Linked DNA regions of Homo sapiens: region 1 is linked to region 2. Evidence: promoter capture Hi-C in human tissues and cell types (Jung and others, 2019). All regions are on one chromosome and are shown on one strand. The core of a region is centred on a gene start or on the middle of the fragment in contact, and the rest is flanking DNA. Distances in the headings are between cores, read along the strand shown.

Region 1 (5,754 bases), core at 1-2,500, 280 kb after region 2:
TGCCACAGCGGTCCCCAGAGACCCTGCCCACCCAGCTGTCCCATTGCTCCTGGGGAGGAGAGGGCACCCCTTAATAGCTGCACGGTGGTCTGATGGGTGGGGCCAGAGTGGCCTGGTGGGCCAGCAGAGGAACCTGCTTTTGGAGAACAGAGGAGACTCTAAAGCCTCTCTCCCTCTCGCCCTCTCTCCCTTTCTCTCTCTCTGTCTCGCCCCCTCTTTTCTCTTTGTGCACTTCTCAGGGGAGCGGTTACCTAAGCCGGAGCGGGGGAAGATGAGAGTGCACAAAATCAACAATGTGAACAAAGCGCTGGACTTTATTGCCAGCAAAGGCGTCAAGCTGGTCTCCATCGGGGCAGAAGGTGAGCTGGAGGTGGGGCAGCGAGGGTCCTGCTCGGTTTCTGACCTTTAGGCTCTGAAGCACAACATCTGCATCCTGAAGAGAAGTTTTGTTGGTGGCAGGGCGCTTGGGGCACTCAGAGCCCCAGTACATACTCAGCAGTGATCACAACAACTGCTCTTGATATGATGCTGGGCCCACAAGCTCCCCCAAACCCTTGGAAAAATCCGGTGGGCGCAGTCCAAATCTAGGAAGTGCAACCCACCCAACCACGGGGGCGACGGCTTCTGCAGGGGGAGGAATGGTTTTGACTCGGACTCAGGTCGCCCTCACTGGTTCTCCTTGTGCCAGGCTCAGCAGACAGTGACAAACATGTGCCATGGCCTCTCTCTGTACCAGGAACACCTTTCTCATTATGCCCTGCCCGGTATCAGAGAAGGACTGGAGGCCCCATGTCAGGCATTGGGACAGGGAGTGCACGGCCAAAGGTCAGTGCCTAGACTTTGCCCTGTGTGCATGGGCTTGGAGAATTTTGCCTCTGACCACCCCAGGATCCTCCTGGGCCCCACGTAGATAACCAGGACCACAGTCCACTACCTGCAGGCCCTCACTAGAGCAGCAGGCTCTCAGCAGGGGCCCCTGGGTTGAGCTCCCAGGCGCTTTTAGAGACAGGCGAGGCCTGATGGAGCCCCAGCAGCATGAGCTCGCAGTCCACTCATTAGTCAGAGTAAGATTTCTTCACCCTGACATCCATGTTGTCCCAGCTTCTAGAAAAACAAAGTAAACTAATTGCCGTTAATGACAGGGCTCTGAGAGTTTGGCCAAGACTCCGGGCCAGAATGTGTGTGCTGAGTTCCAAGGCTCTGCCCCGGCCCAGGACCTCTGCGATGAGGGGTGCCAAGCCTTGCATGCCACAGTCGAGGTGGTTGGTGTTTGTTTAAAAAAATCACAACCCAAAAATTCAGTCAGGCCCTGAGATTTTCTGTCCTTGCATGGGTCTTTCCTCCAGGCTCTGTTCCAGCCTTCTGCTTCTCACAGCTGCATTTATTTTGCTCAAATGCTAGTCTGTAAATACAGAAGGGGTTAGAGGAGAGACCCATGTCAGTCATCAGTTTTCATTTGGAGAAAAACTTGGTCTAAAAATGTTCTCTGTTCATGCCCAAATTGGTTCACTCCCAATCCCTGTGACTGTGGGGCCTTGGAACAAAGCCTAATGGAGGCGTTCCTGGGGCTCAAGGCACCTGAGAACCCCGCCCCACCCTGTCCCCCTGTCCTTCCACATGATTGGGCATTCGCGGGAGCATTGGCTTCCCGTGGGGGTGATGAGAGGGGCCGGAGGCACAGCTGCAGGTCAGAGAAGCAGCTGGTGGATGTGTCATGAGAAACGCCATCCTCCTCTCCTCACCGGAACTCCATAAGCCCTCCGTTACCAGCTGCACCTGTACTTGCTGAGCCGGGGAGCTGCGGCCTTGCCCAGCTCTGCAGGCCCGGCCCTCAGGAGGTGCACAGAATAGATTTCCTGAGGCTCGAGCTGCCTCGCTGCACTAAGGGGCAGGTGGTGCTGCTCAGTTTCTGGGTCTGGGGCTCTGAACCCTAGGACAGGGTGGACACTGGGTCCCTCCCCTGTCTCTGGGCAGCAGAATGAGCATATTTCCTCCTCTCAAAACCCGAAAGCTGTGGCTCATGGACACCCCCTTCCTCTGGGTGTGTCCCCGGGGGAAGGTGAGCCCCATCTTCTCTGTGACCTCTCCACCTGCTTCCAAGCAAGCCTGCCCTGGAGTATTCTGCTCAGAGGTCAGTGAGCAGGGTCTCCTGTGGTGTCCTGGGCCTCCAGCTCTGCAGTTAGCTTTGGAACTCACCCCTGTGCCCAGCCCTTCCCCGAGAGTGCTTGCAGCAGTGGCGCCCCTCTGTCTTCTTTGGAAGCCACTCCATCATGCCCCTTGCATATGGCGTGTTGACAAGTTGGGAGGACTGCCCTAGGCACGGCTGGCTGATGGACTCTGGGATGAGGCACTGCCTTCTCTCACCCAGCCGCAGACACACAGCTGTCCTGGGCCTTGCAGAGATGATTTTTCTCTTAAGTTACTGAGGCTGAAGAAGGTGTGGTCCAAGCCCTTCTTTTGAGAAGTTTCAGCAATTTTTTTTTTTTTTTTTTTGAGATGGAATCTCACTCTTGTCACCTAGGCTGGAGTGCAATGGTGCAATCTCAGCTCACTGCAACCTCTGCCTCCCGGGCTCAAGCAATTCTCCTGCCTCAGCCTCCAGAGTAGCTGGGATTACAAGCACCCGCCACCACGCCAGGCTAATTTTGTGTTTTTAGTAGAGACGGGGCTTCACCATCTTGGCCGGGCTGGTCTCGAACTCCTGACCTCAGGCGATCCACACCTGCCTCAGCCTCCCAAATTGCTGGGACTAAACAGGCGTGAGCCACCACAGCCGGCCGCAAATGTTTGTTTTTAGGTTAGTTCAGAAAGCGTGCAGTCTGGCCTCAGGCCCGTGCTCTCCCCTTCCTGACAACACAGCAGCCATGCTTGTTCCTCACTGGCCTTCCAGGCACTGGATCCAGTGGTGGTCAGAGCAGCCCCGCCCTCACGAGGGCAGGCAGACAGTGAACAAGTAAACAGCCCGACCAACATGTGATTTCACTAGTGATGCCTTGGGGCAGCACAGGGGCCAGGGAGAGGAACTGGGTGGCGGGTTGGGGAGCTCCTTGGGACGGGCAGTCAGGGAAGCCACCACGAGAGGTGACACAAGCAGAAGCTTACACGATGAGAAGGACCAGCCAGTTGAGGGTCGCAGGCTAGGGGCGTGCTTTGTGAGTGGACAGAGCGTATCAAAGCAAGAAAGAGCCTGGCTTGCCCAGAGGATGCAGCTAGAGAATTCCAGCAGGATGGCAGGGCCTGGGCCTTCAGGGCAAGCCCTTTCCCTGTGGGCCAGGCATGGTGGCTCACACCTGCAATCCCAGCACTTTGGGAGGCCAAGGCAGGAAGATCACTTGAGCAGGAGTTTGAGACCAGCTTGGGTAACATAATAAGACCCAGCCTCTACAAAAAGTTTAAAAACTAGCAAGATGTTGTGGCATGCGTCTGTGGTCCCAGCTACTCGGGAGACTGAGGCAGAAGGATTGCTTGAGCCCAGGCAGTCAAGGCTGCAGTGAGCTATGACTACACCATTGCACTCCAGCCAGCCAGACCCTGTCTCAAAAGAAGGAAACCAACCATGCTCGCTGCTGTGTCGATGTGGATTATGGGCGGGAAGGGTACATAGGAGGCAGCCGCATTGAGCTCTGGAGATGACAGTGGCTTGGTGGAGAGTGTCGGCAGTAGGATTGGAAGGAAGTGGACAGATTCACAATAAACAATAATGTAGTGCACATTTGCTGACTGCGAGATGAAAAAGACCACCTTTGCCCTGAGAGTGGGGGCCCGGGGTGCCCCCCTGTAGTCAGGAGGTACGCAGATTACGGCAGAAATGTACAGAGCACTGAGAGTTGAGAGAGGTGTGAACAGAGGCCACACGCCTGGGACCAGCCTCTTGGAGGAGCGGTTTTTTGAGTTGGGTCAGGAGAAGGAGCTGGCTGCGGGGCCAGGGACCCTTGTGGCCAGAAGCCTGCAGGCGCTCAGCAGCAGGAGGCTCTGGGACAGTGCTGCCTAGAGACTGTTCCCTGCATTTTCTCCTGAGGGAGGTGGAGGAGGACAGGCCTGGGAGATGCAACCAGGGGGTGGTTTGGAGCCTTTCTCTAGATGGGGCTGGAAGGCCACCTTCAGGTTGGGCGGAGGAGCCTCACTCTGGTTTTAACGACCTTCTGCCCTCTGCCCCCTTCCCTGTGTGCAGAGATTGTGGACGGCAACGCAAAGATGACCCTGGGAATGATCTGGACCATCATCCTTAGGTTCGCCATCCAGGACATCTCCGTGGAAGGTGACAGCCACCTGTACTGCCCCCGCTTCCCACCTGAGTCAGGGCGGGTTAGAGGAGAGCTGAAGTGTGATCTTCATGCTTCAAGCCTCTTCCTGTTTCCTTGGGGTCACTCACAGGGCCTGGCCCTTGCAGGGGTAGTCAGTGGGTGGCAGGTGAAGGGAGGCTCCTCCCAGCTGCCTGCCTCTTGGCTCCAGTGCCTTCCGAGTGCCTTTGCTCTCACAGCCTCATCTCAGTGGACCCTCACGCCACCCTCATGAGATGGGCTAGGATGGCTGGGCCCGTTTTACAGTCCAGGAACCCAAGTCCCAGAACAGACTAGTGAGAGAGTTGGGCCTGGGCCTGGTTCTCTGTCTGCTTGACATCCCCATCCTTGAAACTTGGCCCCCATGGACCCGTTATGAGCTCAGGCCGTCCAGGAATGGACAATTTCGCTTCCCTGCAAGCACCTGTGTGCACACAGGATGGGCAGAGCCACCTGGGCTAGCGTGCAGGGGCTCCCAGGTGCCAGGTCGCAGTGATGACTGGGAGAGATGTGCTTCCTGCCCTCGAAGGGCTCCCGGTCTGTGAGGACAGCCGAGCTATCCACGGGGAACAGAAGGGCCCCCTAGGCCTCTCTACAGCTGGTATTTCACCTTGTTCAAAAGAGGCCAAGGCCGGTATCAAGGGCCTGTCTGCAGTGTGTTCTGGTGGTGAAAGGCACAGGCTTGGTGGCCAGGCACATGGCACAGATTCAGGCCCTGACACCACCACCTCCTGGGGCAGCCCTGGTCAAGCGACTCTCCTCGGGGCCGTGAGGATTAAGCAGGGCCGTGTGTCCTGGCAGTTGGGCCTGGCAGCATCCGTCTGCATCCGGAATGGGAGTGGCTGTCCCGCTGCTATCACTGCTGCTGTTGTTAGGACAGATATCCTCTCCCCTTGGGTTTCGTTTGACCCCAGGCCTGAGCCGAAAGTCCCATCCAACTTGGGCTGAGTTCTGAGGGTTTATTTTTGAGCCAGTGCTCACTGTCTTTGTGTGTTTTGCAGAGACCTCGGCCAAGGAAGGGCTCCTTCTCTGGTGCCAGAGAAAGACAGCCCCGTATAAGAACGTCAATGTGCAGAACTTCCACATCAGGTAAGCGCCAGTCCTGGTCATCCTCTCCTTTCCTCTAGGAACCTGAGATCCTTCCTCCCACCTGCCCTGTTTGCTGTGTTTTTGTCGTGGTCTGTGAGATGCCAGCCCTCAGTCAGCCCCTCCCTGGCCACGGGCCCTACAAGCCCATGGGAAGGTCACCTGGTCCTCTCTGAGGAAGAGGAGGCAGTTTCCCAGCCATCCTGGCTGAAGGCAGTAAGGTCAGCCCTCTCGCCGGCCTAATAGAACGTTCTTCGTCCCCAGGCAAGGTGACTCTCAGAAGCAACAATAAAGCTTTTCATTTTTGAGACAGGGTCTTGTGCTGTCACCCAGACTGGAGGGCAGTGGTGTGATCACTCATCCCTGCTGCCTTGGCCTAGGCTCAAGT
Region 2 (5,699 bases), core at 658-3,157:
GTTTCACCATGTTGGCCAGGCTGGTTTCAAACTCCTGGGCCCAACTGATCCTCCCACCTTTGCCTCTGAAAGTGCTGGGATTACAGGTGTGAGCCATCACGCCAGGCTCCCACCTCTACCCTTTTTCAGACAGGGTCTTGCTCTGTCTCCCAGGCTGGAGCACAGTTGTGCAATCAAAGCTCATTGTAACCTTGAACTCCTGGACTCGAGTGATCCTCCTGCCTTAGTCTCCCAGGTAGCTGGGACTACAGGTGTGCACGACCATACCCAGCTAATTTTGTGTGTGTGTTTGGGTGTGTGTCAATGGGGGGGGGGGTCTCACTATATTTCTCAGGCTGGTCTAGAACTCCTGGCTTCAAGTTCTCCTTGTCTTATCCTCCCAAAGTGCTGGGATTAGAGGCATGAGCCATCGTTACTAGAAGGGACATTTTAAAGTATTATATATGTCCTAGGCTAAGGAAGGAGCATTCTAACTAAGTCAGCATTTCCCTAAGTGTGGGCACCCAGCTAGTACCAAAAGCATCACCTGGGAACTGGATATCAATACAGATTCTCAGGTCCCAACCCAGACCTACAAAATCAAACACTTTAAGGCTAAGGGTGGTGGCTCATGCCTCTAATCCCAGCACTTTGGGAGGCCGAGGTGGGTGGATCACGAGGTCAAGAGATCGAGACCATCCTGCCCAACATGGTGAAACCCCATCTCTACTAAAAATACAAAAAAGTAGCTGGGTGTGGTGGTGCACACCTGTAGTCCCAGCTACTTGGGAGGCTGAGGCAGGATGATCGCTTGAACCCGGGAGGCAGAGGTTGCAGTGAGCCAAGATTGTGCCACTGCACTCCAGCCTGGCGGCAGAGCGAGACTCCGTCTCAAAAAAAAAAAACAAAAAAAAAAAAACCAAACACTTTAAAGGTAAGCCCAGCAACCTGTATTTTACAAGCCCTCCAGACAGTTCTGAGGCTCGCTCCAGTTTGAGAACCACTGGTCTAGAGTGTCTCATTGAGTACTTACAGGCCTCTCCGAGGTAGAGGATATGATTGTTCTACTGACAGAAGAAAAACCCGAGACACAGAGCAGTTAAGTGACTTACCTAAGGTCACACAGCTAGGAAATTAGGCAGCCAGGAGTCTACCACTAAACTGCTGGGTGGGGAGGAAAGCCCTTTGCCCATCAGAGTGGTGCTGGGGGTGGCAGGAGGAGTTACCCAGGCTAGGGAGCCACCCACCATCTGCCTCTGTGGGGACAGAAGGGCCAGCTTGCCCAGGAGATGAAGCCCATTCCAGAACCGGCCGCACAGCCAGCCACTAGGCCCTGTCCTGCAGCCCCCTGTAGGGGTCTGGAACAGCCAGGAGTGGTTTAAGAGGCAGGGGAGTCGCCTTGCCCTGTGCCACACTCCCCTCTCCTGGGCCAGGCCCTGCAGGAGCCTGGAGTTTCCAGTCCACGGGGATGGGGAACCAGGAAGCCCCCAGGGAGGGCAGAGACACTCAGCCCAGGCCAGGGATGGAGGTGGGGTGATGAGGAGTGGAAAAGGGGCACGGAGCAGCTCAAACTCCAGGGACAACACGGTACAGATGCCACATACAAGCGACTGCAGCCGTAGCTGGCTCCAGACTCCCTGAAGCATCCACCTGGCCCCCCTGCGCCTGATCCCAAAGAAGTCAGGAATCCTGCCACCCTGGCGAGTGATCTCCCCAGCCCTCCCATGCAGAGGGAGGCCTCAGGGTGCTGCCGGGCTCCCTGGGGAGGGTCCTCTCACCTCTTACTGTCTTTTCTGTTCATGCTTCCCGCGTGGGGTGAGGAGGCCGGGGGTCTTGCAAGAGTAGGGCTCAGCTCCTCCCCTTGCCCAGGACTCCAGCTTCTCAGCCCCTAGGGAGCTGGGGCCTCCTCGGTGCTTGGGAAGGAAAGAGGAACTGCCCCTCCCCACCCACCCTCAGGCCAGGGGGAAGGAAGAGGCTGGGGAGAGACCGAAGGCCCCCCTCCCCCACACGGGGATCCCTTCTGCTGAGGTTTCCGGCATCGCTGGCTCTCCCACCCTCAAGCTCCCCGGCGGGCTCTCTATCTCCCCCATCTTTCGGTGTCGAGACCCGTCACTGTCATACTTCAATAAAAGAAGGGGCTTTTCTTTTTAAAGCATGACTGATATTTATGTAAAAACACACACACTCACTCAAAAAGATAAGTCTGTCTGTCTAGAAGGACATATTCATATATATAATTCATGAAGGTTTGAATGGAAACTCACAAGACATAGTATTTTGTATATTTCTTCATAGGCGTCTCTTATTCCTAGTTTAAGTGATACCATTTGTACCCTGGAAAACATTTTCACTTTCTGACTTTATTGTAACAAACCTCCACATAGCACCTACTGTGTACCACACACTGCTGTAAGGACTTTAAAAATATTAACTCATTTAATCCTCACACAATCCACTGTTACCTTAAAAAAAATTACATACCGGACCAGGCACGGGGGCTCACAGGGGCTCACGCCTGTCATCCAGCACTTTGGGAGGCCAAGGCAGGCGGATCGCTTGAGTCTAAGAGTTTGAGACCAGCTTGAACAACGTGACAAAACCCCGTCTCTACAAAAAATGTAAAACGTTAGGCCGGTGTGGTGGCTCACTCCTGCAATCCCAGCACTTTGGGAGGCCGAGGTGGGCGGATCACCTGAGGTTGGGAGTTTAAGACCAGCCTGAGCAACATGGAGAAACCCCGTCTCTACTAAAAATACAAAATTAGCCAGGCGTTGTGGCACATGCCTGTAATCCCAGCTACTCGGCAGGCTGAGGCAGGAGAATTGCTTGAACCCAGGAGGCGGAGGTTGCCGTGAGCCGAGATCGCGCCATTGCACTCCAGCCTGGGCAACAGGAGCGAAACTCTGTCTCAAAAAAAAAAAGTTAGCTGAGCGTAGTGATGCACACTTGTAGTCCCAGCTACTCAGGAGGCTGAGGCTAGAAGATTGCTTGAGCCCAAGGAGGTCGAGGCTGCAGTGAACCATGATGGTGCCACTGCACTTCAGTCTGCGTGGCAGAGCCAGACCCTGTCTCAAAAAACAAAAAACAAAAAAAAAAAACACACACACACATCAAAAAACATTAGAGATGGAGGTAAAGCCTTGGGGAAGCCCCTCCCCATCCCCTGCCTTTCTTAAGCAGGGTGTGACCAATATGACACGTTGTCGAGTTTCGTCCAAACTGCTGTCTGTGCGTTTAAGCACATCATATAAACATGTGCTCCTAGAAACAGACTTTTCTTTTGAGTGTGCATTTTTTTCTTTTTACCTAAATGTGTCATGCTCGACACTTTTTTTTAAATTGAAGTACAAAAAAGATCACGAATCATTAAGTATTTAGGTTGATGAAATGTCACCAACTGAGCAAACCTGTGTGACATTCATACAAATCCAGACACAGAACATTCTCACCCTCCACAAGCCCCCTGTCTTTCTTCCCAGCACGAATTCCCACAGATCCCCACTCGCCCGAAGTCTGGCGCAGTAGTTTTGTCTTGTTTTGAGCTGGATAAAAATGGACTCCTGTATTGAATCTGGGTTCTTTCTCTCCACGTCTTGTCTTTGCAGTTCTTCCATGTTATCATATTTGGTTATAATTTATTCCTTTTTTTGGCCGGGCGCGGTGGCTCACGCCTGTAATCCCAGCACTTTGGGAGGCTGAGATGGGCAGATCACTTGAGGTCAGGAGTTCGAGACCCGTCTGGCCAACATGGTGAAACTCCCATCTCTACTACAAATACAAAAATGAGCCAGGTGTGGTGGTGCGTGCCTGTAATCCCAGCTACTTGGGAGGCTGAGGCAGGAGAATCGCTTGAACCCGGGAGGAGGAGGTTGTAGCGAGCCGAGATTGCACCACTGCACTTCAGCTTGGGCGACAGAGCGAGACTCTGTCTCAAAATAATAATAATAATAATAATAATAATAATTCCATATAGTCTTTCATTATGTGACAATTCCATGACTTATATATATATATTTATTTATTTAGAGATAGGTGTTGTGGATAGTGACTAAGCGGGCTGGTGGCATGCTAACTTCTATTTTTTTTTTTTATTTTTGAGACAGAGTCCTGCTCTGTCGCCCAGTCTGGAGTGCAGTGGCGTGATCTCAGCTCACTGCAACCTCTGCGATTGAAGCGATTCTCCTGCCTCAGCCTCCCCAGTATCTGGGATCACAGGTGTGTGCCACCACACCCAGCTAATTTTTGTAGAGACGGGGTTTTGCCATATTGGCCAGGCTGGTCTTGAACTCCTGGTCTCAAATAATCCACCCGCCTCAGCCTCCCAAAGTGCTGGGGTTACAGGCGTGAGTCACAGCACTAAGTTCTATTTTTCATCAGTCTAGAGTCTGGTAATAACTAGACACTAAAACATTTTAAGTTAAGTGAGTTATCTATACAAGAGGACTATATGTCCTAGACTGTAAAAAAAAGACAAACTTATAGCTTCTCTGTTTTTTTTTTTTATTTTTATTTGGTCCTACCAACCTGACTCTTTTTTCTTAATTAAGACTCCACAGCAGGGTCTCCCTCTGTCACCAAGGTTGGAGTGCAGTGGCGAGATCCTAGCTCACTGCGGCCTCGGACTCCTGGGCTTAAGCCATCTTCCCACCTCAGCCTCCTGAGTGGCTAGGACTACAAGTGCACACCACTGTGCTCTGCTAATTTTTTTTTTATTATTTTCCTGTAGAAACAGGGTCTTACTTTGTTGCCTAGGCTGATCTCGAACTCCTAGGCTCAAGCAATCGTCCTTCCTATGCCTCCAAATTGCTGACTCTCCAGGCGTGAACCACTGTCCCCGGCCTCCGTGATTTATTGATCAATTTTCCTGTGATGGACATCTGAGTTGTTTCCAGGTTGGGGCTGCTGTGACTATTTGAGCATCTGACTTTTGATGAACATAGAGTGTACCATATTGTAGGGCAGTACCCAGGAGTGGAATAAATGGGTCATAGTAGTTACTGTGATTCTACCAAACATAGCATGTTAGCAATTCATTGAAATCGTTCTCTCAGAAGTATATTTTTCCACTTTTTTTTTCACTAAAAGAAAGAACCGTGGATGTATATTTTTTCCAATGCAGAACATTTAGACAGTCACTGAACTCGCCGTCTTTAGTTTTTCCATCACGCGATGTTACCATAGCTTCAGACTCTCTCTTCCTGCCCGTTTTCACCCTCTCTCCCCCTGGCCTCATGGTGTTCTGTCTGACTCTCTCAGACCATCTCCTGTAGCACCTGCATCTTGAATGTGACTTAACAATCCTGGCTGAGCAGAGACTTCGTAGTGTGGCAGTGTCTCCAGGCCCTGGGGACCCAGAAAAGCCTCAAGGAGGAGGTCAGAAATCCTGGCACTTGTTTCTACTGTACACAGGCAGCCTTAGTCCTCGGGCTGGCCAAGAATACCCACAATACCCGTGCTGATGACTACAAAGGAAGGGACTTCTGAATCAAACCACAGAAACTCCTAAGGCAGAAAAATGATGGACATGATAACATGCAAATACAGACTTTCTTCTTTTGTTGCTGTTCTTCTTTCTTTCTCTTTTAAATTTTAAAGATGGGGTCTTGCTATGTTGCCCAGGCTGGTCTCAAACTCCTGGGCTCAAGGGATCCTTTCACCTAGACCTCCCAAAGTGCTGAGATTACAGGCAGATTTTCTTTTAACGAAGACACCATGGGACA

What was found. Contacts are between HindIII fragments. The study calls those that stand out against the background at their distance.
Region 1: a contact is called between a fragment that was not itself captured here and the fragment with the promoter of RASGRP4 in region 2, in 1 of the 25 tissues and cell types used here (bladder).

Annotation. Positions count from the first base shown.
Region 1 is chr19:38,700,763-38,706,516 of GRCh38, forward strand. ACTN4 (actinin alpha 4) reads left to right here. Exons shown (of 21, transcript NM_004924.6): 3 at 240-359; 4 at 4,172-4,258; 5 at 5,282-5,369. It overlaps LOC107985291 (a long non-coding RNA gene), which reads right to left. Exons shown (of 2, transcript XR_001753937.2): 2 at 1,162-1,402. Among named protein-coding and RNA genes, the nearest start is that of CAPN12, 41 kb to the right of the region's middle. RefSeq lists enhancers at 1,743-2,243, 3,853-4,622. The HindIII fragment of the contact is 6,256 bases long and covers 1-4,378 here.
Region 2 is chr19:38,424,312-38,430,010 of GRCh38, forward strand. It overlaps RASGRP4 (RAS guanyl releasing protein 4), which reads right to left and starts at 1,908. Exons shown (of 17, transcript NM_170604.3): 1 at 1,758-1,908. The coding sequence starts at 1,780. RefSeq lists silencers at 1,784-1,843, 5,365-5,565 and an enhancer at 2,736-3,250. The HindIII fragment of the contact is 24,204 bases long and covers 1-5,699 here.